Regions from separate parts of the Homo sapiens genome. Here regions 2 and 3 are each linked to region 1. The links are contacts of gene promoters, found by promoter capture Hi-C in human tissues and cell types (Jung and others, 2019). All regions are on one chromosome and are shown on one strand. The core of a region is centred on a gene start or on the middle of the fragment in contact, and the rest is flanking DNA. Distances in the headings are between cores, read along the strand shown.

The links. Contacts are between HindIII fragments. The study calls those that stand out against the background at their distance.
Region 2: a fragment that was not itself captured here is called in contact with the fragment with the promoter of GNG11 in region 1 in 1 of the 25 tissues and cell types used here (thymus).
Region 3: a fragment that was not itself captured here is called in contact with the fragment with the promoter of GNG11 in region 1 in 1 of the 25 tissues and cell types used here (H1 embryonic stem cells).

What each region holds. Positions count from the first base shown.
Region 1 is chr7:93,919,644-93,923,401 of GRCh38, reverse strand. GNG11 (G protein subunit gamma 11) reads right to left here and starts at 1,667. Exons shown (of 2, transcript NM_004126.4): 1 at 1,169-1,667. The coding sequence starts at 1,264. All of the region lies in intron 1 of LOC105375402 (a long non-coding RNA gene), which reads left to right. RefSeq lists an enhancer at 1,430-2,065. The HindIII fragment of the contact is 9,220 bases long and covers 1-3,758 here.
Region 2 is chr7:93,874,275-93,878,290 of GRCh38, reverse strand. No RefSeq gene overlaps it. Among named protein-coding and RNA genes, the nearest start is that of TFPI2, 14 kb to the left of the region's middle. The HindIII fragment of the contact is 5,642 bases long and covers 1-4,016 here.
Region 3 is chr7:93,973,589-93,977,735 of GRCh38, reverse strand. All of the region lies in intron 1 of BET1-AS1 (BET1 antisense RNA 1), which reads right to left. It also overlaps a transcript of BET1 not described here. Among named protein-coding and RNA genes, the nearest start is that of BET1-AS1, 7.3 kb to the right of the region's middle. The HindIII fragment of the contact is 3,323 bases long and covers 641-3,963 here.

The DNA.
Region 1 (3,758 bases), core at 418-2,917:
CATGATAGAAGGGACAGCTCATTATAAAAGCTAGGAAGAGCCGGGATTTGGATGTGAAAGGTTAAATTTGAGAAAAGAAATATGTAAAAAGTAAAACACAAAAATGCCTGCATCTTCTAATCATCACTCAACAGTGAAGACTCTTGCCCTTAACAGATTTATTATAACTAGAACAGGAAGGCAAGTGAGCATATTATAACGCTTCATTTCCATTGTTTTTCTTAATTTTTTCTAGTGCTAAACCATAATAAATAAGATCAGTTCAAAATTTTCTTGCTGAAGAGGAAAGGTTAATTATCTTTAAACAATATCTATTCAAAGACCTTTCCTAGTCTACAGGATGCCTGATTGAGTTAAAACAGGAAGAGGGATTAGTGTCTGAAGGAAGGTCTTGATGACCAGTAAGAAATTGAAGTAAAACTTATAAAACTCCCGAGACGTTTCAGTGGAGAATATTGAATACTGGGTCATATGTTCTCAATGAAATGGTAATCTCTATCAATAGTCTCTAAAACTTTAAAATTGTGATCACTAAAAAAATTTTTCATATGCACCACAGTGTATGTATAATTATTTATAAATAAGTACAGATACTACTGTATTAATCGCATACTAATAAAACATAAAGTGAAAATTATAAAGGGATGAGATTTACAAATAAATATAGAAATTCTAATATTTTGTTCCCAAATTTCGGTGGACTGTTCTTTGCATATCACTGAAGGCCACTGGTGAAATTCAAAATTAAATAATGTACTTGTAAGACTTTAAAATACGGTTTTAGAAAATTTCTTTCAAATATCATCCTTTCTAGTAGTGTAAAAGATCAAAGAACCAAGTAGCTATCCGCTTTTTTCCTACAAGTGAGTTTTGAAAAACAGCTGTCTAATGGAAAGCAAGATTTCTTGTCTATTTTCCCCTTCCTAGGCATCTTAAAAGTTAGGACATTTGGCCTTAAATTACTTATCAGATCCTTGCTCCCTCCTCTACCTCCTAGGATTTCCCCACATCAGCTGGCAGTCCCCAGGCACTGCCAAAGGGTGGTGAGAAGAGAAGCTACAAAAAGGGGGAAAAATAAGCTAAACTATTTGCTTTACTGTTACTAAGCAGGAAAAATCGGACCCTGCTTCATTTCAGAGAAGGAAATATTCCGGAACAGCCAACTTACTTGTTGTCTCTGCAACTTCACTTCTTTGCGAAGCTGCTCAACTTCCATTTTCAGTTTTTCCTTCTCTGGCAAATCTTCGATGTGAAGGGCAGGCATTTTCGCCCCAGAACCGGGCTCGGGCTAGCTCTGGCAGCGGAGCCGCTGGAAGAGCGGCGAAGCTCGGCGCGTCCCGAAACAACTGAAGGCCTGGCCCGCCGCCCACCCGCGCAGGATGTGACTGCAGCCCTGCTGCGGTCCCCAGCTCCCCGAGGGCTTGGCTTTCTCCGGGACGCTTGTCACGCCAGCGTGCCCCAGCTTCCTAGGACCTGAGAACTCTGCCTTTTCTCAAGTCCCTGCAACCCAGGAGGCCTGCCCGGGTGCTAGATGAGGGTTAAGTTTGAGACTGGGTCCAAGCAGCTTCCCGCTGCTCAATCGCCCAGCAGGGATGCTGGCCACGGACAGGCCCTGACTCAGGACCTGCCACGCCCGCGGGGGACGGCTGGGCTGGGGCTGCAGGACTGGGAACAGCAGAAGTTTTACTTTGTGTTCTCCGCGCACCCCCGCTCCTTTTTTTTTTTCCGTTTCCAAGTCACATCCGGGTTTTGTTTGTGAAGCTAGGAAAAGGAGTACACTACCCAGCAGGAAATAACTACCCTTCACCTCTCAAAGAGTTTTAAAAATATGCTAGATATAGCTTTTCCCTAATTACATACATAGGTTGTTGCAAAAGTAATTACTTTTCTCTAATTACATATATAGGTTGGTGCAATTAGTTTTGCACCAACGTAATAAATGCATAGTGGAGAATGCGGACGCTTAAGAAAAGGCTGAAAAGAAAATGAAGCTTAGCCCTAATCCCAGAAATACCCACCAGTGTTCTGCTCATTTGTGTCCATCCGGCTTGTTCGAGGCCTAATATGGGTTTATACATTTTGGGCGAGGAGGGGGCAACAGGGTGTGAATATCGTTTACAAGTTGCAAGAACATTTTCTATTATTAAATAATCATCTGCATCCTCAACAGCAGCAGAGTTTGTATTTTTTTTATTTTTCCGGGGGAATGTTATGTAGAGGGGTGCATCAAAGGATGATATAAGAGAAGACAGAAGCAGGAATCTTAGAGTTCTTAACCGAAAGCCTTTCTCCACTCCCCAACCCTAAGTTTTGGGTGACACTTGACACCAAGGATTTTGAATTCCTGGCTCCTGAACCTTCCTGGATGTAGGCAGTGGATTCATTTAGTATTAGTTTCTCCACTTTCTGGCAAGCACTATTTATCTAGCTGTTGCTCTGGAAAGCCAGGAAAAGTGTCCGATGTGAAAAAAGTTTACATGCAATAAAACTTTCCCTTTAACTGTAACTAAAGTCTTGTTGATGGTGGTCAAAAGAGTAGAAGAAAAATCAAACATGAATGTAAGAAACCTTCCCTAGCAGTTGGATATTTCTCTTTCTTTCCAGAGATAACCTCCTGCCTCACAGAGTCAAAGGCAAGTGAAATATTAACTTAATATTTCAGAGTAGCTGACCCAAGACACCCATGACCATTCCCTGTTTAGGAAGCAGGAGTTTTTGTTCGTTCCTAGTTTCTTACCACGCTCCGCTCAACCTCAATGAATAAATTAGAATGAAAAAAACAATGAACCACTTAATGAATACTCCTGGCGTGTAGTTGCAGCTCTGCCACAGGCCATCACTGAAGAAGTCATTTAATTTTTCTTAGTTTTGGTTTTCTAATTTGTAAAATGTATAGTAAGGCAGGGAAGTAGTGAATCAGCTAAGCTATGTTGTGTCTCTAATTGTGTTGGTATGTCTATATATGATAAATCATTTTCACAAAGAAAATGTTTAAGAGCTTCACTTTCAATATTTGAAATACCAGGGTTTTCCAAGCTCAGAGTAGTTAGAGCATCTACTGAAGTTTACTTGTAAATAAGCAGGGAGACTAGACAAATGTCCATATCTGTCTTGTGCACTAATTCATTTTTAAAATTTTCTATTACTTAAATTTAAAAGGTTGGTCAAAAATACCTTAAATTAGTGAAAGTAATCAACGTGAATGTGGCCTAAATTAAATAGGTTCAGCACCTAAGTTAAATAAATTGGTTAAATAAATTATTGTGTTTTTGTTCTTTTTTTTGTTTTTTTGTTTTTTTGTTTTTTTTTTTTTGAGACGGAGTCTCGCTCTGTCGCCCAGGCTGGAGTGACTGGCACGATCTCCGCTCACTGCAAGCTCCGCCTCCCGGGTTCACGCCATTCTCCCGCCTGAGCCTCCGGAGGAGCTGGGACTACAGGCGCCCGCTACCACGCCTGACTAATTTTTTGTTAATGTGTGTTTGTTCTAAGTCATAAAAATATAATTATTTTGGCTTTGAAGTTTCTTTCCCATGAAATCATCTAGTTGCTTAGAGGGATAAATACTTATAAGCCCATATTGGTTCTTTAACTTTTCCCATCGTATTATGAGACGTATTAGAAACAAAATACTTGTTAGTCTTTTTTATTGTTATTAAATAATTCATATTCTAATATCTTAAGTAAATTGATTAAACTGAAGTGAATTGCAAAATGTTGAAATTGCATGATCACACAGGATTCTGAAAAAGGTTTTATTG
Region 2 (4,016 bases), core at 275-2,774, 45 kb after region 1:
ATGTCCTATTAAGAAGAAATGATATTGCTTTCATTGGAATATATATTTATTATTTATACATGTTAAGTTCAATTTTACACTTATTATTTAAAATATATATACATATATCCAAATATGTATATATCTGCCAGTGCTTGTTAAAGATTACAGACTTTATATTTGAATGTTGCATCAACATTTTTCTCTGTTGCATATTTTAGGACTATTTTCATCAAATTAAACAATTGAGTTTCACTTTCTTTTTCTTACACTAGTTATACGTAAATGTTGCCTGACTTTCTGTCCATTCTAAAGTGTCTTGGATTTTCCAGGATTAGCAACAACAAGCATTCCTATGGTGCATTATGAGGGGTTTCGGCAGCTTGCTAGGTTGCTTAGTTCAAGAGCACTCTCTTCTGAGGGTGCATGGAAGTACACTGCCTTTAATAAATGATGCCTTTTTTACGAGTTGATGTGTCTTCCACTTCTATTATTTTCTTTTTTAACTTTCTATGAGATCCTTACTTTTCACCACTTTATTTCTTCTTTCCATTCACTATCAAGTCTCTTTCCAAAGGATATCTACTTTTTTTAGGTTGCCTCACACTCCACCCTAAGCAATGCCTTCTCACAAGGTTGCCACCTCTCCGGTCCTGCAATTTTCATGCCTCTCCCACTTCCCCCAATTCCTCAATAGCCATTGCTTTGGTCCACCAGGCCACACACCTTAGTTGGAGTAAGGTCTTGTCTTATCCCAAAGAAAACACCAAAGAAAAAGAGTGTTTTCCTTGGGGTAACATTATCTGTGTTTCACCAAGTCTGGGACCCTACTGCATTCTCTTCTTTTTCACATAATTTTTATATTATTTCCTCAGTTATGTGTAAATAGAAGTCTATGTTTTCTCTTTTTCTTAGTTTTGCTCTATAAGTAACTTATGGGTGGTTTTATTAAGATCTCCTGATGAATCTGTATGGTTTGGAAAGTTACGTGAAAAGATTATTATTACTGTATATATACATTATTTTCTTAGGGAAATTGGAAGTCTCAAACAACGTGTTAAAATTTTCTTTGAAGTTTTAAAGACCATGGATTGATTTTTCTCTTTTTGTAACCTAATCTGATTTTATATTCATATCTCTTAAGGCATACAAAATAGAAATTATATGTTGACACTACCTTTAGAACCCAGGCTCCTTAACCTATGCATGCATTTGTAACTGTATCTTACCTGTTATTTGATGCTAAGACACAAACTGATATGGTTCTAGACTACAGTTTTTCAATAGAGGCCAGCTGCTTCCCTCTAAGTCTAAAATGGAGGTTAATCTCATATTAATCTTGCATCGTTTGCTTAGCCAGCTCTTTTGATATTTGATAATGAAGAGGTCTGCCCTCTGTTCTTAGCCATCCTCTCCTGGGAATTTTTTATCTGAATCACTGTACTATAATTCTCATGACAAATTGATATTATGCATTGCATATTAAAATTAATCTTTCAGCTGGGCGTGGTGGCTCAAGCCTGTAATCCCAGCACTTTGGGAGGCCGAGGGAGGTGGATCACGAGGTCAGGAGATCGAGACCATCCTGGCTAACACGGTGAAACCCCTTCTCTACTAAAAATACAAAAAAAAAAATTAGCCGGGGGCGGTGGCGGGCACCTGTAGTCCCAGCTACTCGGGAGGCCGAGGCAGGAGAATGGCATGAACCTGGGAGGCGGAGTTTCCAGTAAGCCGAGATAGCGCCACTGCAGTCCAGCCTGGGCGAAAGAGCAAGACTCCGTCTCAAAAAAAAAAAAAAAATTAATCTTTTAGGATAACTTTATTTTTACTTGTAAAATACAAATTCTTTTTTCACATAGAGTTCTTAGCTATAGGTTTTCATTTTAAAAATATAGTCTCAGTCCTTTTTTATTTATTGAGTCCATTAAAGGTAGATAAATGTTAGTATATCATCAGTTTAATTATTACATAGTAAAAACAAATGTGTTTCGAATACAGTCTACAGTTTTAAGTGAGTAAGCAATTTATCACTTTTTAACAATATTTCTGTCTATAATAAAATGTAAAATATTTTTTTCTGAATCTGACTTTTGTGGGAAAATGTCATTTCTCATAATTAATAATCACGGTAGTTTAACCTCAAGCTTAAGTGTTATGCTCCAAGGAGGCAATTATGTTTAAAATAAGGATATTTCAAAATTATTAAGTTAATAGTCCTAACAAATGTTAAAACAAACATTTAACTGCTAATAACAGGTATTTTCCCTTTTTGAAAAATAAGCAAATGGTTATTTATTGACTTTCTTTTTCTAGGATTTGTATTGATTTTTGCAATATTACAGTGTTTTATTTCTCTTTAAGAGTAATTTCTTAACCATATGGAAACATTCATTCAGGTTTACTTTATGATCTGTTTTCAAGTTAAAAACAATAACATCCCACTAAATGGATGTGTATAATATCTATGTTTCCTTCACAAAATGATCATTATCTCTAATGTAAGAAATTAATAATACAAAGGATACAGTTAGGGTTATATTTCTGTCTTCTCTATTTTATCACATTATTTATTATTTACCAAATTACAAACTTTTGTATTCTACCATTCTAAGACCAATGGAAGGTTTAGTACCAATGTAAGATAATGCTTTTGCTTCACTTGGATAGTTTACTTTGAGCTAGGAGACATATTTGATTACAAATGAAAGCTCTGAACATCCAGCTTTAGAGATAAGGAGAACTCTTCTCTCTGTCAATAGTACCTCTTTTTTTCTTTCATGAAATAGGATGTACTATCAAGTAATTACCTTCACCTGTGGGAAGTTTTACTCCTCTGTGCTGTGATAGGGTTGTTTTGCTAAGCCACTTCTCTAAATCAGCTGGTCCTTCAGAGGAATGTAGGCCCACCTTGAATCCATATTCTCCCTGGTATTTTGCTGCCAAGATGTTCCTCATTCAGACACATCTGAGCCTTATCAGCTCACTCACAGCCACCATCTTCTGAGATATGTCTTGGAGGTGCTAAGTCTGAGAGGAGTCATGTTTTGATCACAACACCTATAACCCTTGCCCTTTTGCCTGTGTCAGTAATTTCCCAGGATTCCATGTTTTATTTGTTAAGCCTTGTGGATATAAAAGGCTGACAGTCTTTCCCTGCAGTGGGGTTAGGCCCAACATTATAAGGATGGTTGCAATAAATCCATGGTTCTCATTCCTTTCCAGGACTGGCAACTGGAATACCTACCTGCATTCTTCAAACACAAGTTCTCTTTACTGTCTTAAAGGTGAAGAAAGGGGTAAAACATAAATGAACATTTCTGGTAGGACACATTCTCAGAACCACATCTTTCCTGGTGTATTAGTCCATTTTCACATTGCTGATAAAGACATACCCAAGACTGGGTAACTTATAAAGCAAAAGAGGTTTAATGGATTCACAGTTCCACATGGCTGGGGAGGCCTTGCAATCATGGTGGAAGGTGAAAGGCATATCTTACATGGCGGCAGGTAAGAGAGACAATGAGAGTCAAGTGAAAGGGGTTTACCCCTACAAAATCATCAGATCTTATGACACTTATTCACTACCATGAGAACAGATATGGGAAACTGCCCCCATGATTCAGTTATCTCCAACTGGGAGATAATTGCACTACCCTAGCAGAGGTTCTCCACGAGGGCCCCACCCCTGTAGCAAACTTCTGCGTGGACATCCAGGCATTTCCACACATCTAGATGGAGCTTCCCAAACCTCAATTCTTGACTTCTTTGTGCCCACAGGCTCAATACCCCATGGAAGCTGCCAAGGCTTAGGGCTTACACCCTCTGAAGCCATGGCCTGAGCTGTACCTTGTCCCTTTTAGCCATGGCTAGAGCTGCTGGGATACAGGGCACAAAGTCCCTAGGCTGCACACAGCAGGGGGGCCCTGGGCCTGCCCTATGAGACCATTATTTTCCTTCTAGGCCTCTGGGCCTATGATGGGAGTGGTTGCCTTGAAGGTTTCTGACATGCCCTGGAGACATTTTCCCTTTTGTCTTGG
Region 3 (4,147 bases), core at 1,053-3,552, 54 kb before region 1:
TCTGTTTACAAAGGAGAGTGGTCAAAGTGGGAGTTCCAATTTAGGAAGGAAGCTTCTGCATAGAGTGCCCCTGTGAGGGTTGGTCCCGTGGCCAAGAATAAGAGCTAGAGAGAGAGAAACGGAGAGCTGAGGTCTGAATCTTGTGCCAGATAGAAGTGAGTAAATGGTCAAAGTACAGGGTTTTTATTCTAATCCTTAAATCCTATTAAGTAAATAATTTAAAATATGAGGATTCATTTATAAACCAATTTTTTATTTTTTCTCAAATTAGTTTCACTTATACAGAGCTACTACCCGTAATCTGTACCATCTGTTTGGGGTTTATCTAATTAGAATGCATTCTGTAACAAAGCCAATGAAGGCTAAATAGTGACTTAGACTGGCAGGCAAAAAACTAGAGGTGCCTGCCCCATGCCCTGCTAATTCTGCATATGTATAGTAGAGACAGGGTTTCACCACGATGGCCAGGCTGATCTCAAACTCCTGGCCTCAAGTAATCTGCCTGCCTCGACTTCCCAAAGTGCTGAGATTACAAGCATGAGCCACCGTACCCAGCCCCTCCAACATCTTTGATGCTGAAAGATCTGTGCACAGTAGACGAAACTTCATCCAGATTATGACTGACTAACAAGGAAGATACAAGAGCTCAGGTTGGAGTATCCAAAGAAAATGTGATTGAGATATAGATATAGATAGATATAGATATATCTCAGCCATAAAAGGGAACAAAATAAGGGCATTCGCAGGAACCTGGATGGAGTCAGAGACTGTTATTGTAAGTGAAGTAAGTCACAAATGTTAAACCAAATATCTTCTCTTCTCACTTATAAGTGAGAACTAAGCCAGAAGGACGCAAAGGCATAAGAATGATATAACGGACTTTGGAGACTCATGGGAAAGTGTGGGAGGGTAGTAAGGGATAAAAGACTACACATTGGGTACAGTGTATGCTGCTCAGGTAATGGGTGCACCAAAATCTCAGAAATCACCACTAAAAGACTTATGCGTATATCCAAACACCATCTATTCTCCGAAAACGATTGAAATAAAATTTAAAAAATAATAATAAGTACTCTTTTATTAACCACATGTGGTCAAGGTGAGATGAAATATGAGGCAAAAAAGCAGCACTGTAATGCTATGTTCATTGCTATTTTTAAAGAACAATAAAATTACATTTTTTATTTACCTGAGAACTATTGTTCAGAGATCCTGCCGGCGTTCAAGCTTGACTAGTTTAAATAAAAATGACAATACCAAACATTCTTATGTTAAAAGGTCATTGTGCCATTTTAAGTGAGTACATGTACTTCATTTTATTGTGTTTTGCTTTATTGTGCTTTGCAGATGCTGAATGTATGTTTACACACACACACACACACACACACACAATAAGTAGATATCTTTAAAATGTATCCTGTGAAAAGTAGTTCTGGATGTGAAGGGGTTGGAGGGAAGCAGGATAAAATAATGACTTAGAAAGCTTTCTATCACATAAGCCTTCCATTAATTCTCTGAATACCTGCTCAGTTTTTCTGTAACTCTTCTGAGAGTACATTTACTTCTACTTTAAATGTTGTTTTGTTTTGTTTTTTCAAATTATTTAGAAACTAAGATCTCCATCTGTTTTTACAGTGGATCCTTCAGGTTCCAGGGATTTCACCAGTAGCAGTGAAAGCCTACTTCTGCTAATTTTGACTGTTCCTCAGCATTTGTCCAGAAGCTTAAAAAGAAGGAGGCTTACTTTCAGTGCCATCTATCACAGCTGCAGAATTATATCATGACATGTCAAAATAATGACTCTGAAGCCTTCCAAATCTTCCAAGAAAGAAGTAAGTTTTTAACAAGTACATTTGATAGTCTCATAATATTTTGAAAATTAAAAATCGTTATCTGGCAGGTGTGATTGAGCATGATATTAAAAGAGAACATCATGACATTCTTCAATTACTCAAGAGAAAGTAGCATTTTCCACCTATACCCATTATATCTGGATCATCTCGGCTTTCAAAAATGGTAAGCAGTATGCTTGTAATTAAAACATAAAGGATGACTTAATGACAATTTAAGTATCTATGCAAAAAACAGCATTAACTGGTGTGGAATGTCCTTTGCTATTAAAGCTTACAGACACTTTCTAATACGTCATATAAACATTTTTGCATTATCTTTTAAAATTAAAACACGATTTGTTAATTTTTTTACAACTAAAGCCATACATAAGGGATTTCCTGGCCAAAAATAAAAATAGTAATGCATTTTCTAAATATCACATGCTCATTGTAGAGATTTTGGAAAACAAAATTAAGGAAAAAATAAAAATCGTCTGCACTTTCACTTTCCAAAGATAGCTATTCTCAATATTCTAGTACATTTTATTTCAATTTTTAAAAACTTCTTGTTTTGTAAGAACATTACTTACAGAAAAGTTATAAAAATAGAAAAATACAGTTGCTTTAATGGTCAAAACCAAGAAGTTAACATTGGTACAATACTATTAATTAAATTACAGACATTTTTCAAATTTCACCAATTTTTCTTTTAATGTTATGTTTATGTTCCAGAGTCCTAGTCAGGATCTCACATCTCATTTAGTTGTGATGTCTTTATGGTTTCCTCTGATCTGTTACATCAGATACAACAGACACTTCTGAAGAGTCCTGGTCAGCTATTTTGTAGAATTTCCATCAATTTGGTTCTATTTGATGTTTCTCATGATTAGATTGAGATTATGCATTTTTGGCAAGAATACTACAGAAGTGATATGCCCCTCTCAGTGTATCATGTCAATATATGTATATCATGTATGATGTCAATGTATCTAATTATTGGTTATGTTGACCTGGATCACTTTCTAAAAGTGGTGTCTCCCAGTTTTCTCTACTCTAAAGTTACTATATTTCTTTTTTAATTAATAAATATTTTGTAAGAGTTACTTTCAAATGCAAATATTATTTCTCCTCAAACTTTTACCCAACAATTTCAGCATTCATTAGTGGTGTTCTAATGGTGATTTTCCATTTCCCTCATTCCTTCTTTACTTATTAATTGGAATCTTTTTCTAAAGAAGAGCTGCCTCTTCTCCTACATTTATGTATCTACTCAAATACTTATCTTTATCACTATGGCACCACAGATATTTACTTTATTCTATGGATTATAATCCAATTACATTTTTTCTTTTTGTAAATTTTTCTAGCTTTGGGCATTGGGATCTTTTCCATTTGGCTCCTGTGCCCTTTCAACATGCCCTATTCTTTTTTGAGCACTGTCGTACTTCCTGCTGCTGCATGGGGCTAAAGTCTTATCTTGTATATTTTCTGTGCCAGCCTTGGAATCAACTATATCTCCAAGGAGTTCTGGTTCCTTTTATTAGATAAAGGTATTAGAAACAAAAATCTGGGTGACAGGTGTGCTTACTACTAACAGAGTGTCACTACTTTTAGTACCTGTCAGTGAACATGGTTTCAGAATACATATATTATACTGGTTATTGCATACACATATGTCTAAGTTTATGTCAGTATTTATCTTTAAAAATGATGAATTCATATTGATATCTACAATTCCAATCCAATACTACAGGGTTTATTCTAGCTATCCCTTTTCTTATATATAACTTTTCTATTATAGACAAAGAGAAAACTGACTCTCATTTTCTTCAATATATGCATGTATTTTTTTCAACCCTAGCATACAAAGAAAATAGCTTCTGAAATATGAATCTGTACCCATTTGGGAACAAATTTACTAAGGAAAGTATATTATTTGTGTGCAGTTCTTTTTGTCTTTAGCCTCATACTATTCAATCAAAATATTGTTTTCCAAAATAAGTTAGTTCTTCTTTTACACCTCCTGTAGTGTTCTGTTACTCATTTTTAATACAGTTAGATACATTTGCTACAGTTTGTATTCTAGTTGGGGTTCTTCCCAGGCCTGGTGCATTTTAAAACCTTTATGTAGCATATAATTCAGTATTTGTATGCAGTGTCCCTGTTCAGATTCCTTTGTGTTTCAGCCTTCTCATCACAGGGCCCAGAGGCCAGGTGTTGAGGTATACATGGGAAGCCTATAGACCTCTCTTATCTGTCTTTCTGTGTTCTCGCCCCATGATCAGTAGTCACTAGGTTTTTAAAATGTATGGTTT